Linked DNA regions of Homo sapiens: all the other regions are linked to region 3. The links are contacts of gene promoters, found by promoter capture Hi-C in human tissues and cell types (Jung and others, 2019). All regions are on one chromosome and are shown on one strand. The core of a region is centred on a gene start or on the middle of the fragment in contact, and the rest is flanking DNA. Distances in the headings are between cores, read along the strand shown. Region 1 has its middle 97 kb from the start of RBL2. Region 2 overlaps LOC102723373 (a long non-coding RNA gene). Region 3 holds the start of CHD9 (chromodomain helicase DNA binding protein 9).

Region 1 (3,993 bases), core at 453-2,952, 280 kb after region 3:
TGCAGACTCAAATTCCTGGGCTCAAGCAATTCTCCTTCAGCCTCTGAAGTAGCTAGGACTACAGACGTGCAACACCATGCCTGGCTAATTTATGTATATATATATATATATATATATATATATAGTAGAGATGAGGTCTTGGTTCTTGCCGTGTTGCCCAGGCTGGTCCTGTACTCCTGGCCTCAAGCAATCCTCTCCCTCAGCCTTCCAAAGCTCTGGGATTACAGGCATGAACCACCACATCCAGCTGATCATGTTGTTTTGATATGTGCTGTGAAATAATTGCCACAATCAAGCAAGCTAACATATCCATCATCTAACATAGTTACCGTGTGTGTGTGTGTGTTAACACTTAAGATTTACTCTCAACAAATTTCAAATATTCAATATAGTATTACTAACTGTAGTTATTATGTTGTACATTTGATCTCGACAACTTATTCATCCTGTGTAACAGAAACTTTGTACCGTTTGAATGAGCAGTTAATCTTTGAAAAGAGTGCCAAGACAATTCAATGGGGGAAAGGATATTTGGAACAACTGAATATCCATACACAAAAAAATGAAGTTGCACTCAGAATCGATCATAGTCCTAAACGTAAGAGATGAAATTATAAAACTCTTAGAAGAGGCTGAGCACGGTGGCTCATGCCTGTAATCCCAGCACTTTGGGAGGCCGAGGCAGGCGGATCACGAGGCCAGGAGATCGAGACCATCCTGGCTAACACGGTGAAACCCCGTCTCTACTAAAAATACAAAAAATTAGCCAGGCGTGGTGGCAGGCACCTGTAGTCCCAGCTACTCGGGAGGCTGAGGCAGGAGAATGGCGTGAACCCGGGAGGTAGAGCTTGCAATGAGCCGAGATCACGCCACTGCACTCCAGCGTGGGTGACAGAGTGAGACTCCGTCTCAAGACAATAAATAAATAAATAAATAAATACTCTTAGAAGAAAGCATAGAATAATCTTTGTGACCTTGAATTATGCAAAAGCTTCTTAGACTTGACATTAAAAGCACAAGTAATAAAAGAAAAAATAAACATCAAAATTAATATATTTAGTGCTTCAAAGGACACCTTCAAGAAAGAGAAGGCTGAGCGTGGTGGCACATTCCTGTAATCCCAGTACTTTAGGAGGCCAAGGCAGGAAAATTTGCTTGAGCCCAGAAGTTCAAGACCAGCCTGGGCAACAGAGAGAGACTCCAAATCTACAAAAATAATAGTAAGTAAAAAGAAAGAGAACAAACAACCCACAGAACTGGAGAAAATATTTGTAAATCATGTATCTGATAAGTAACTTGTATCCAGAACATATAAAGATCTCTTACAACTCAAAAATAAAGATAAAAACTCAATTTTAAAAGGAGCAATGGATTTGAGCAGACATTTCTCCAAAGATATACAAATAGCCAATACACACATGAAAAGGTCCTCAACGTTATTGGCCATTATGTGAATGCAAATCAAAACTAAAATGAGATACCACTTCACACCCCTCAGGATGGCCAGAATTAAAGAGACACTAAAAGTATTAGTGAGAAAGTGGACAAATTACAATTCTCACACATTGCAGGAGGGAATGTACAAAGGCATGGCCCCAGTCTATGGCTACACCACCCTGAACATGCCAGATCTCATCTGATCTCAGAAGCTGGGCAGGGTGGGGCCTGGTTAGTACTTGCATGGAAGACTGCCTGGAAATACTGGGTGCTGTAGACTTAAAGGAAAAAAAAAAGAAAAAGAAAAAAAGAAACAAAAGAAACAAAGGGAACTGTTTTCCCTTTGGAAAACAGTTTTGCAATTCCTCAAACTATTAACCATGATGTTGTTACCTATGGCTCAGCAATTCTATTCCTAGTATGTACTGAAAGAAATGAAACCATGTTCACCTGAAAACTTACAGACAAATATTTATAGCGGTATTATTCAGAATAGCCCAAAAGTAGAAACAACCCAAATGTCCATCAACAGATGAATAAATGAGATGTGTGGTCTATCCATACAATGGAATATTTAACCATAAAAAGGAAGGAGGGACTGACATATGTTGCAACAGAGATAAATCTTGAAAACATTATTCTAAGTGAAAAAAGTTGTAACAGAGCCCCTTGAAATTTCAGCACCCCAACATTTTTAGTGACTGAAATAATGAAAATTCTCATAGGCCCTTGCTTCCTTACACAAAAGCCAGCATCCTTTGTTCCCATGATATAATTATAATATAAACTGCTGATGTGCTGTTTCTTTGTCAAGCAGAAGATAACTTCAGGGTCATGAAAAAAATTTTCAGAAGAAAGGGGCAGGTGCGGTGGCTCACGCCTGTAATCCCAGTACTTTGGGAGACTGAGGCAGGCAGATCACCTGAGGTCAGGAGTTTGAGACCAGCCTGGCCAACATGGCGAAACTCTGTCTCTACTAAAAATACATAAATTAGCCAGGTGTGGTGGTGGGTGCCTGTAATCCCAGCTACTCAGGAGGCTGAGGCAGGGGAATCACCTGAACCTGGTTGCAGTGAGCTGAGATCGCACCATTGCACCCCAGCTTGGGTGACAGAGCTAGACTCCGTCCTCCCCAGAAAAAAAGAAAAGAAAAAAGAAAAAACTTTGCAGAAGAAAGAACAAAATCATGTCCTTTACTGCAACATGGATGCAGGTGGAGGCCATTATGGTAAGTGAATCAATGCAGAAAGAGAAAACTAAATACTGCATGTTCTCAATTATAAGTGGGAGCTAAACATTGGGCACTCTTGAACATAAAGATGGCAACAATAGACTCTGGGGACTTCTACCAGGGGAGGGAGGAAAGGAGACAGGAGTTGAAAAACTATTGAGTACTATGCTCGGTACCTGGATGACAGGATCATTCATACCCTAAACCTCAGTATCATGCAATATACTCATGTAACAAACCTGCACATGTAACCCCTGAATCTAAAATTAAACTTGAAACTTTTATTTTATTTTATTTTGCAGAAGGAATGAATGTCCTTTAAGGACATTGTAACCAACTGCTGTAACCCAGCAATCTGCTTATTCAAGATGTTATCCGAGACTGAAGAAACGCAGACTTTTCCCCCTCGGTTCCTTGAAACTCCCCCTACCTTACTCTCTAGCCACATAAAACTATTTGCTTTTCATTCTTGATAGACAGAATTGAGAGATTTTGCTTTTCCCACCTTCTGGTTTTAGTCAAATCAAAAAAAACCTTTCTCTCTCTCCAACCACCTGTGTGTCAGTGTTTGGCATCAACTTCACGCCAGGCACACAAGCCTGAACTTGGGGTTCTGTTTCAAGGTCAGTCACAAAAGATCACATATGATTCCATTTATATAAACTGTCTGTAATAGGTGAATCTATAAAGATAGAAAGGAGATTAGTGGTTGTCTAAGACTGGGGACATTCACATGTAACTGCTAATGGTTACAGGTTTCCTTTTTTTTTTCTTTTAGAGACAGGGACTCGTTCTGTCACCCAGGCTGGAGTGCAGTTGTGCTGTCACTCACTGTAACCTTGAACTCCTGGGCTCAAGCAATCCTTCTACCTCAGCCTCCCAAAGTGTTGAGATTACAGGCATGAGCCAATGCACTTGGCCTTGAATTGTACACTTTAAACGAGTGAATTGTATGGTACATGGACTATATCTCTAAAGGTTTTAATAAGCTAACAAAACTAAAACCTATGAACTCAAGGTAAAAAATGTTAAACTTGACCAGCCATGGTGGCTCACACCTGCAATCCCAGCACTTTGGGAGGCCGAGGCAGATGGATCACTTGAGGTCAGGAGTTCAAGACCAACCTGGCCAACATGGTGAAACCTTGTCTCTATTAAAAAAAAAAATACAAAAATGAGGTGGCATGCACCTGTAATGCCAGCTACTCGGGAGGCTGTGGCACAAGAATTGCTTGAACCCAGGAAATGAAGGTTGCAGTGAGCTGAGATTGCACCACTAAACTCCAGCCTGGCAGAGCAAGATTCTGTCTTAAAAAAATAATAAT
Region 2 (4,004 bases), core at 160-2,659, 330 kb after region 3:
CTGCCTGCCTTGGCTTCCCAAAGTTCTGGGATTACAGGCATGAGCCACCACGCCCGGCCTTATGTTGTATTTCTCAATTCATATATGCCTCTAATTGATTTCTCGAATCTGAGTTTATTTCCATGTTGATCTTGTATGCTCGTATTGGTGAAATCACTTATTAGTTGAAGGAATTATTTTGAAGATCCTTTGGGATTTTCCCCATAGTTCCTTATATTATTTCCAAATAGGGACAGTTTTACATCTTCCTTTATAATCTATATGTTTTTTCTCGACTTACCATGCTTGCTAGAAATTCCAGTACCATATTGAATAATAGTGGTGAAAGGTGGACATCCTTGTGTTTTCCTTACCTTAGGGGAAAGGCATACATTCTTTCTTTAAATATTATGTTACCTGTAGGTTTGGAGTAGATGTTCTTTATCAAGTTGTGGAAGTTCTACACTGTTGATAATTTTCTGAGTGTTTTTATCATGAATAAGTATTGAGTTTTATTGAATGCTTTCTCTACGTCAATGAGTATGATCATGTGATTTTTCTTTTTTGACATGTTTGTATAGTTAATTACATTGATTTTTAAAATATTGAACCAGCTTTGAATCTATGGAAGGGATCCCCCTTGGTCATGCCATTCGATTCTTTTATACAGTGTTGAACAATATATATTTGCTTGCATTTTGCTAAGAGATTTTGCATCTAAATATAGAGAGATATTGGTCTGTAGCTTTGTGGGGGTTTTTTGTTTTTTTTTTCTGGTCTTCACTTAATTTTGGTATTAAGGTTGCTGGCCTCATTAAATACATGGGAAGCAGTCTCCTTTTCTATTTCCAGGAAGGCATTGTGTAGAATTGGCATTAGTTCTTTAAGCATTTGGTAGGGTTTGGCAGTAAATATGTCTGTGACTGGAGATTTCCTTTTGGGACTTTTTGAATTAAGAATTTGATCTGCTTTTTTATTTTATTTTTTATTTTTTTGAGATGGAGTCTCACTCTGTCACCCAGGCTGGAGTGCAGTGGCACGATCTCAGCTCACTGCAACCTCTGCCTCCCAGGTTCAAGTGATTCTCCTGCCTCAGCCTCCCCAGTAGCTGGGACTACAGGCATGTGTCACCACGCCCAGCTAATTTTTGTATTTTTCATAGAGATGGGATTTCCCCATATTGGCCAGGTGGGTCAAGAACTCCTGACCTCAAGTGATCCACCTGCCTCGGCCTCCTAAAGTGCTGGGATTACAGGCGTGAGCCACCGCACCTGGCCTGGTGTGTTTTTTAGAAACAGGGTCTTGCTCTGTGGCCTAGGCTGCAGTGCAATGGTGTGATTATAGCTCATGGCAGCCTCAAACTCCTGGGCTCAAACAACCCTCTCACCTCAGCCTCTCAAAGTGCTGGGATTACAGGCATGAGCCACTGCGCCTGGCCTTGATTTTCTTAATAATTATTTGAGTAGTGCTATTTAAGTTGTTTATTTCCTAATAATAGATGTTGTGGTTATTTGTGTTTTTTTGAAATTAGCCATTTCATCTTACTTGTCAGGTTTATTATATCTGGAGAATTATTTGTAATATTTCCTTAATATAATTTTTATATCTTCAGGATCTGGGATTATATCCCCTGGTGCATTCCTAATGTTGGTGATTTGTGTCTTCTCTCTTATTATTTCTATTAGTCATATTAGAGGTTAATCAGTTTTACTGGTCTTTTAAAAAATGCTTTTTGTTTCATTTTTCTCTATTTTTCTGTTTTCAATTTCATGATCTCATTTGTATTATTTTTTGCTTGCTTTGGTGTTGCAGGAAGTCAGGGACCCTGAACAGAGGGACCAGCTGAAGTCACAGCAGAAGAACATAAATTGTGAAGATTTCATGGACATTTATTAGTTCCCCAAATTAATACTTTTATAATTTCTTATGCCTGTCTTTACTGCAATCTCTGAACATAAATTGTGAAGATTTCATGGACATTTATCACTTCCCCAATCAATACTCTTATAATTTCCTATGCCTGTCTTTAATCTCTTAATCCCATCATCTTCCTAAACTGAGGATGTATGTCGCCTCAGGACCCTGTGATGATTGCATTATCTGCACAAGTTGTTTGTAAAGCGTGTGTGTTTGAACAATATGAAATCTGGGCACCTTGAAAGGAACAGGATAACAGTGATTTTCAGAGAACAAGGGAGATAACCATAAGGTCTGACTGCCTGCAGGACCGGGCAGAACAGAGTCGTATTTCTCTTCTTACAGAAAGCGAATAGGAGAAATATTGCGAATTCTTTTCTCAGCAAGGAATAGCCCTGGGAAAGGAAAGCATTCCCAGGGGGAGGTCTCTAAAATGGCTGCTCTGGGAGTGTCTGTCTTATGTGGTTGAAGATAAGGGATGAAATACACCCTGGTCTCCTGCAGCGCCCTCAGGCTTGCTAGGATTAGGAAATTCCAGCCTGGCGAATTCTAATCAGACCAGTTGTCTGCTCTCGAACCCTATTTCCTGCTAAGATGTTTATCAAGACAATGCGTGCCCAGTGGGACATGGAACCTCATCAGTAATTCTAATTTCACCCTGGCCCTGTGATCTCGCTCTGCCCTTCTGCGCTTGTAATCTTTTATTGCCTCTTGAAGCATGTGATCTGTGTGATTTACTCCCTGTTCATACCCCCTTCCCCTTTTCAAATCCCTAATAAAAACTTGTTGGTTTTGCGGCTCAAGGGGCATCACGGAACCTGCCGACATGTGATGTCACCCCTGGAGGCCCAGATGTAGAATTTCTCTCTTTGTACTCTTTCTCTTTATTTCTCAGACTGGCCGACACTTAGGGAAAATAGAAAAGAACCTACATTGAAATATTGGGGGCTGGTTCCCCCAATACTTTGGTTTTGTTTTTCTTTTTGTTTTATTTTCTGTATGCGAAAGCTTCAAGTATTGATCCAACATGTTTTCTAATATAAGCATTTAGTGCTATAAATTTCCCTCACAGCTCTTGGGTATTGGTATACCACACATTTTTATATGCTGTATTTTCATTTGATTCTGGGTAGATACTTTTGTTATTCTTTGTTTGTTTGTTTCTATTTCCCATGAGATGAGACTTCTTCTTTGACCCATGGATTATTTAGAAGGGAGTTGTTTAGTTTCTAAGTGTTTGGAAATTTTCCTGTTACCTTTTTCCTGTTGATTTCTAATTTGATTCTATTTTGGTTAGAAAGCATATTCTGTATGATTTCAGTTTTTTTAATGTCACAGGACATAATTCCAAAAGTCCCTGTGGACCTTTCTCTTCTGTTTTTGTCTCCCTTCTCTCTGTTGGTCAGGGTAGTTTCTCTTTCCAGGTTCACTGGTTCTCTCCTCTCTCCTTTCCACTCTGTTGTAGAGCCTGTCTACTGAGCTATTTATTTCAATTCTTTCATTTTGTTTGAAATTTTATTTGAGATGGAATCTGACTCTGTCACCCAGGCTGGAGTGCAGTGGCATGATCTCTGCTCACTGCAGCCTCCACCTCCCAGGCTCAAGTGATTCTCCTGCCTCAGCCTCCTGAGTAGCTGGGATTGTAGGTGCCTACCACCACACCTGGCTAATTTTTATATTTTTAGTAGAGACAAGGCTTCATTATGTTGGCTAGGCTGGTCTCAAACTCCTGACCTCAGGTGATCTGCCCACCTTGGCCTCTCAAATTGCTGGGATTACAGGCGCAATTATTCCATGTTTTTATTCTTTTCTTTTCTTTTTTTTTTTTTTTTAGACAGAGTCTCGCACTGTCACCCAGGCTGGAATGCAGTGGCGCGGTCTCGGCTCACTGCAAGCTCTGCCTCCCGGGTTCACACCATTCTCCTGCCTCAGCCTCCTGAGCAGCCAGGACTACAGGCACTGGCCACCACGCCCGGCTAATTTTTTTGTATTTTTAGTAGAGACAGGGTTTCACTGTATTAGCCAGAATGGTCTCGATCTCCTGAACTTGTGATCCCCCCGCCTCGGCCTCTGAAAGTACTGGGATTACAGGCATGAGCCACTGTGCC
Region 3 (4,450 bases), core at 292-2,791:
GGGAGGGGGAAAGGAGGATTGCAGGCCTAACTTTCACAAATCACCTGAAATTTCCACTGAAGGCATTATCTCCAAATGTTGCCACAGAGATAAACTGCCAGGATTACAAGAAAACGTGAAGACGTTCCCATAGAACTCTGTAATGCTTATATCCATCACCAGGAATGTCTGCCCTTGGCGCCCTAAACATAGATTGATTGATTGATTGATTGATTGATTTTGAGGCAGAGTCTCACTCTGTCACCCAGGCTGGAGTGCAGTGGTGCGATCTCAGCTCACTGCAACCTCCTCCTTCCGGGTTCAAGGGATTCTCCCACCTCAGCCTTGGAGTAGTTGGGATTACAGGCTCCTGCCACCACGCCCGGCTAATTTTTGTATTTTTTGTAGAGACTGGGTTTTGCCATGTTGGCTAGGCTGGTCTCAAACTCCTGACCTCAAGCGATCCTCTTGCCTCAGCCTTCCAAAGTGCTGGGATTACAGGCGTGAGCTACGGTGCCTGGCCCTAAATATAGATATTTTTAATAAATCCTCTACTTATCTCACAACGAGCTCAATCGCTTTGCATTAGATCGTTGGGTGTGTTAAAAGTATTCATGTGTTACATTAAATGTGAATTCAACAAAAGCAGAGATTTTTGTGTTTTGTTCTTCATTGTATCCCTTGATTGTAGAAAAGTGGCACATAGTAGGTGCTCAGTTAATCGTTGTTAAATGAAGACATAAATGAAATATAAACCATTAAATGTCCACCATATTTGTAAGCGTTTTGGCATGTCTTCATTGAAAGAATACCAGGCAGCTGGGAGCCATAGTTTACTCCGGTAATCCCAGTGCTTTGGGAGGCTGCAGGTGAGAGGATCGCTTGAGACCAGGAGTTCAAGAGCCACCAGGGCAACATAGAGAGACCTTGTCTCTACAAAAACAAAACAAAACAAAACAAAAAACAAAAAACACAATTCCCTTAAGCCGCCCCTTCCCCTTCCACTGCTCAGAGAAGGCCTTCCAGCAGAGCAGAGCACGAGGTCGCTGGCACACACCCATCCTCCACCAGTCCTGGCCTCTGTAGAGCAAGCCAGCAGAGCAGGCTGTTTCTCTCATTCAGGGACGGTTTAGGGGGTGGCAGGAAAAAATGGTTGCTGATAGGCGAAGGGCCTCCCTGGGTTGGAGAGAACCCCAGCCTCGGATGGTCCCAGCACATTTAAAAGAGAAGCAGTGCCAAAGGTGGGGTGCACTGAAAGCTGCTGGATGAAGGGAAAGATCCTTGTGCTCAGCCCGGAAAACCGGAGGATGGATACCAGGCCGAGGGGTCCCTCCGTGCCCCAAGAGAAAGTTCACCAAGTTTAGATCCCAGTGCCCCGCAGCGGGTGAAGGTGGTCCCGCCCCAGGCCGGATCTGGCCACAGGGCTGGCGGCGCGCTGGAAAACCGCCCACGTGGGAAGAAGCCCTGGCTGCATTTCCGCCCTGGACTGCGCTCCCGCCTGCCAGCGCGGTCCCTGCGCAGCCGCCCCGCGCCCACTAGGTGGCGCCTGCGCTCTAGTGGGCGCTTCACAGGCGCAGCGACAGCGACAGCGACAGCTCGAACCTGAGTCCCAGGATTCCGGGGACTGGAGGGCAGCGCCGGCAGCCAAGGTAGGATTCCTGAGCCCCGGGCGTCTCCCTGGAGCCTCTGAGGTCGGGGTGGACAGCGGGGCGGCCGCTGGGCACCGCTTGCGGTCTGCAGAGATAACCGGAGGAGTCGGGGCGGCAGCACGTGTTGTAGCCGTGGGGGGGACCCAGAGACCCGCAGCCTCGGAGCTGGGCCTAGAGCAAGGCAGAGCACCAGGTCGCTGGCACGCTCGCATCCTCCCCAGCCCTCGCCTCCCAGAGCATGCCCGAATCCCCAAGCCGGGCGTCCTCGAAGCGGAAAGCAGCCACTGTCGCCCAGAGCCACTCCAGGGTGGCAGCCGAGTGCTGATAAGGTCCAGAGCACCACTTCTTAAACTTGTCTGCCCGTTGGCGTTGCTTGGGAAGCATTAAAAAAATACCGATGCCCTAGTTCCACCCCCGCCCCCCCCCAGAGACTCAGATGTGATTGGTCTGGGTGGGGGACTGGACATCTGGGTATTAAAATGTTTGCAAGAGATTCCAGCTGGCAGCCAAATTTGAGGACCCTTGATCTAAGGAGTTGGAGAAAAACGGAGGACATTTGTTTGTTCTAACCCAGAATGCTGATGATTCCCTCCTCCTCCTATTCCTCCAGTTCGCCCTCCTCCTCCTTTCTCATGTGCCTTTTAAGCAGGAAATGCCTCTGCCTTTGTACTGTCAAACCCAAGATAACAAACTAACCATCCCCCACCCCCCACAGTAGGGCTGGTTCTGAAAGGGTTGAACTCGAAAGTGGACAAGGAACAGAAAGACACCAGTGTGGAATGTGAGCGAAGACTCTTAGGGGTTTATGGGTAGGAAGGGGGTTCCTCCCCACCCTGATCCCAGAGAAGATCAGGAGACTGGCTGGAGCTGTCTTCCTCATTTTGGCAAACCTAGCTGATTAGGCAGTGAGAGGCCTTATAACGAGCCTTTTTTACAACTAGTAAAAGGGCCCTTTTACAACTAGTAAAAATGAGCCCTTATGTTTGTTTGTTTTATAGAGATAGGGCCTCACTATATTCCCCAGGATGGTCTCAAACTCCTAGGCTCAAGCCATTCTCCAGCCTCGGCCTCCCAAAGTGCTGGGATTATAGGCATGAGCCGCTGCGCCCCGCTGACCCCTTATGTTTATATAACAGCAGTGTTACTAACATGGGCATAGATTCCCCCCCATAGGCAGCCCTTCCTTTGTGACCTTGGAAACTCACTGAACCATCCTCAGCTTCAGTTTTTGTATCTGCAAAATGGGTGTGAAAATCGGGTTGCCTTGGGAATTATTCACAATAAAAGCTACTGTTTACTAAGGGTTCACCCTATGCTAGAGGCTTTCTGTGCAGGGCCAAGTTAGACTCCTGACCATAACTTCCACGGTAGAACTATGAATACTGCATTTGATAGCCAAGGAAACTGAGGCTCAGAGAGGCCAATGATCTTGCTCGAAGTTATATAATTAATTAATAAGAAGCATGTCCCATATTTGAACCCAGGCAGTCTGCTCTTGAGCTCAGGTGCAAAAGAACAATACTCTGCTGTTTCCCTTGTTGACCAGGACAGCGTGCACGGGGCAGGCGCGTGGTGTGTCTTCACAAACACTAGCTATCACTGCTGTGAGCTGAGCACTTCCACTGAATTGACTCATTCGCTCATTGGAAATACATTTATTATTGAGAGCCTACTGTGGGCCAGGCAGTTTTCCAGATGCTAGAGATAAAATATGAGTAAGACAGAATTCAGCCAGCCCCGAATGAGAGAAACAGGAAGAAAGTGCAGTAGATTCTCATTATTCACAAGTTCTAAATTTGCAAATTCTTCCCTGTAATCCCAGCACTTTGAGAGGCTGAGGCAGGAGGATCGCTTGAGGCTAGGAGTTTCAGATCAGCCTGTGCAACAGAGCAAGGCCCTGTTTGCTTAAAAATTATACACATTGAATAATTCTTAAAAAAAATTTGTTTGTGGCCAGGCATGGTGGCTCATGCATATAATCCCAGTACTTTGGGAAGCTGAGGCAGAAAGATTACTTGAGGCTAGGAGTTCCAGATCAGCCTGGGTAACACAGTAAGACCCTATATCTTTATTTTAAAAATTATATAATTAAAGAATTTTTAAAAAAATATGTTTGTGGCCGGGTGTGGTGGCTCACACCTGTAATCCCAGCACTTTGGGAGACTGAGGTGTGAGGTTAGGAGTTTGAATTTAGGAGTTTGACACCAGCCTAATCACTTGAGCTAAGGAGTTTGAGACCAGCCTGGACAGCATAGAGAGACCTTGGCTCATTTAAAAAAAAAAAGAGGAAAAAAGGCCGGGTGCAGTGGCTCATGCCTGTAATCCCAGCACTTTGGGAGGCCGAGGTGGGTGGATACCTGAGGTCAAGAGTTCGAGACCAGCCTGGCCAACATGGCAAAACCCCGTCTCTACTAAAAATTCAAAAAATTAGCTGGGCGTGGTGGCAAGAGCCCGTAATCCCAGCTGCTTGGGAGGCTGAGGCAGGAGAATTGCTTGAACCTGGGAGGTGGAAGTTGCAGTGAGCCAAGATCACGCCATTGTACTCCAGCCTGGGCAACAACAGCGAAACTCCATCTCAAAAAAAAAAAAGAAAGAAAAAAGAAAAATAATGTCTGCGTAACTTCCAAATCAATATCCATGACACTTTCACAGTCATATATGGATGCACGTAGAATAGTGAAAAAGTTGAGTCACCCAACGTGCACATTTCCAGCCAAGGGCAAACAGGAGGACACGCTGCTTTCTGGTTTCAGCTCTTGTGCTATAAACAAGTGTCCCTTTTGTGGTGTACTTAGTGCCACATTTTTTGCATGTTTGTGTGT

What was found. Contacts are between HindIII fragments. The study calls those that stand out against the background at their distance.
Region 1: a fragment that was not itself captured here is called in contact with the fragment with the promoter of CHD9 in region 3 in 4 of the 25 tissues and cell types used here (hippocampus, mesendoderm cells, small bowel and 1 more).
Region 2: a contact is called between a fragment that was not itself captured here and the fragment with the promoter of CHD9 in region 3, in 1 of the 25 tissues and cell types used here (thymus).

Annotation. Positions count from the first base shown.
Region 1 is chr16:53,335,855-53,339,847 of GRCh38, forward strand. It overlaps the pseudogene RNA5SP427. Among named protein-coding and RNA genes, the nearest start is that of RBL2, 97 kb to the right of the region's middle. The HindIII fragment of the contact is 8,519 bases long and covers 1-3,993 here.
Region 2 is chr16:53,382,383-53,386,386 of GRCh38, forward strand. It overlaps LOC102723373 (a long non-coding RNA gene), which reads left to right. Exons shown (of 3, transcript NR_119378.1): 3 at 1,792-1,877. Among named protein-coding and RNA genes, the nearest start is that of RBL2, 50 kb to the right of the region's middle. The HindIII fragment of the contact is 9,705 bases long and covers 1-4,004 here.
Region 3 is chr16:53,053,450-53,057,899 of GRCh38, forward strand. It overlaps CHD9 (chromodomain helicase DNA binding protein 9), which reads left to right and starts at 1,542. Exons shown (of 39, transcript NM_001308319.2): 1 at 1,542-1,628. RefSeq lists enhancers at 1,836-2,367, 1,880-1,929. The HindIII fragment of the contact is 13,928 bases long and covers 1-4,450 here.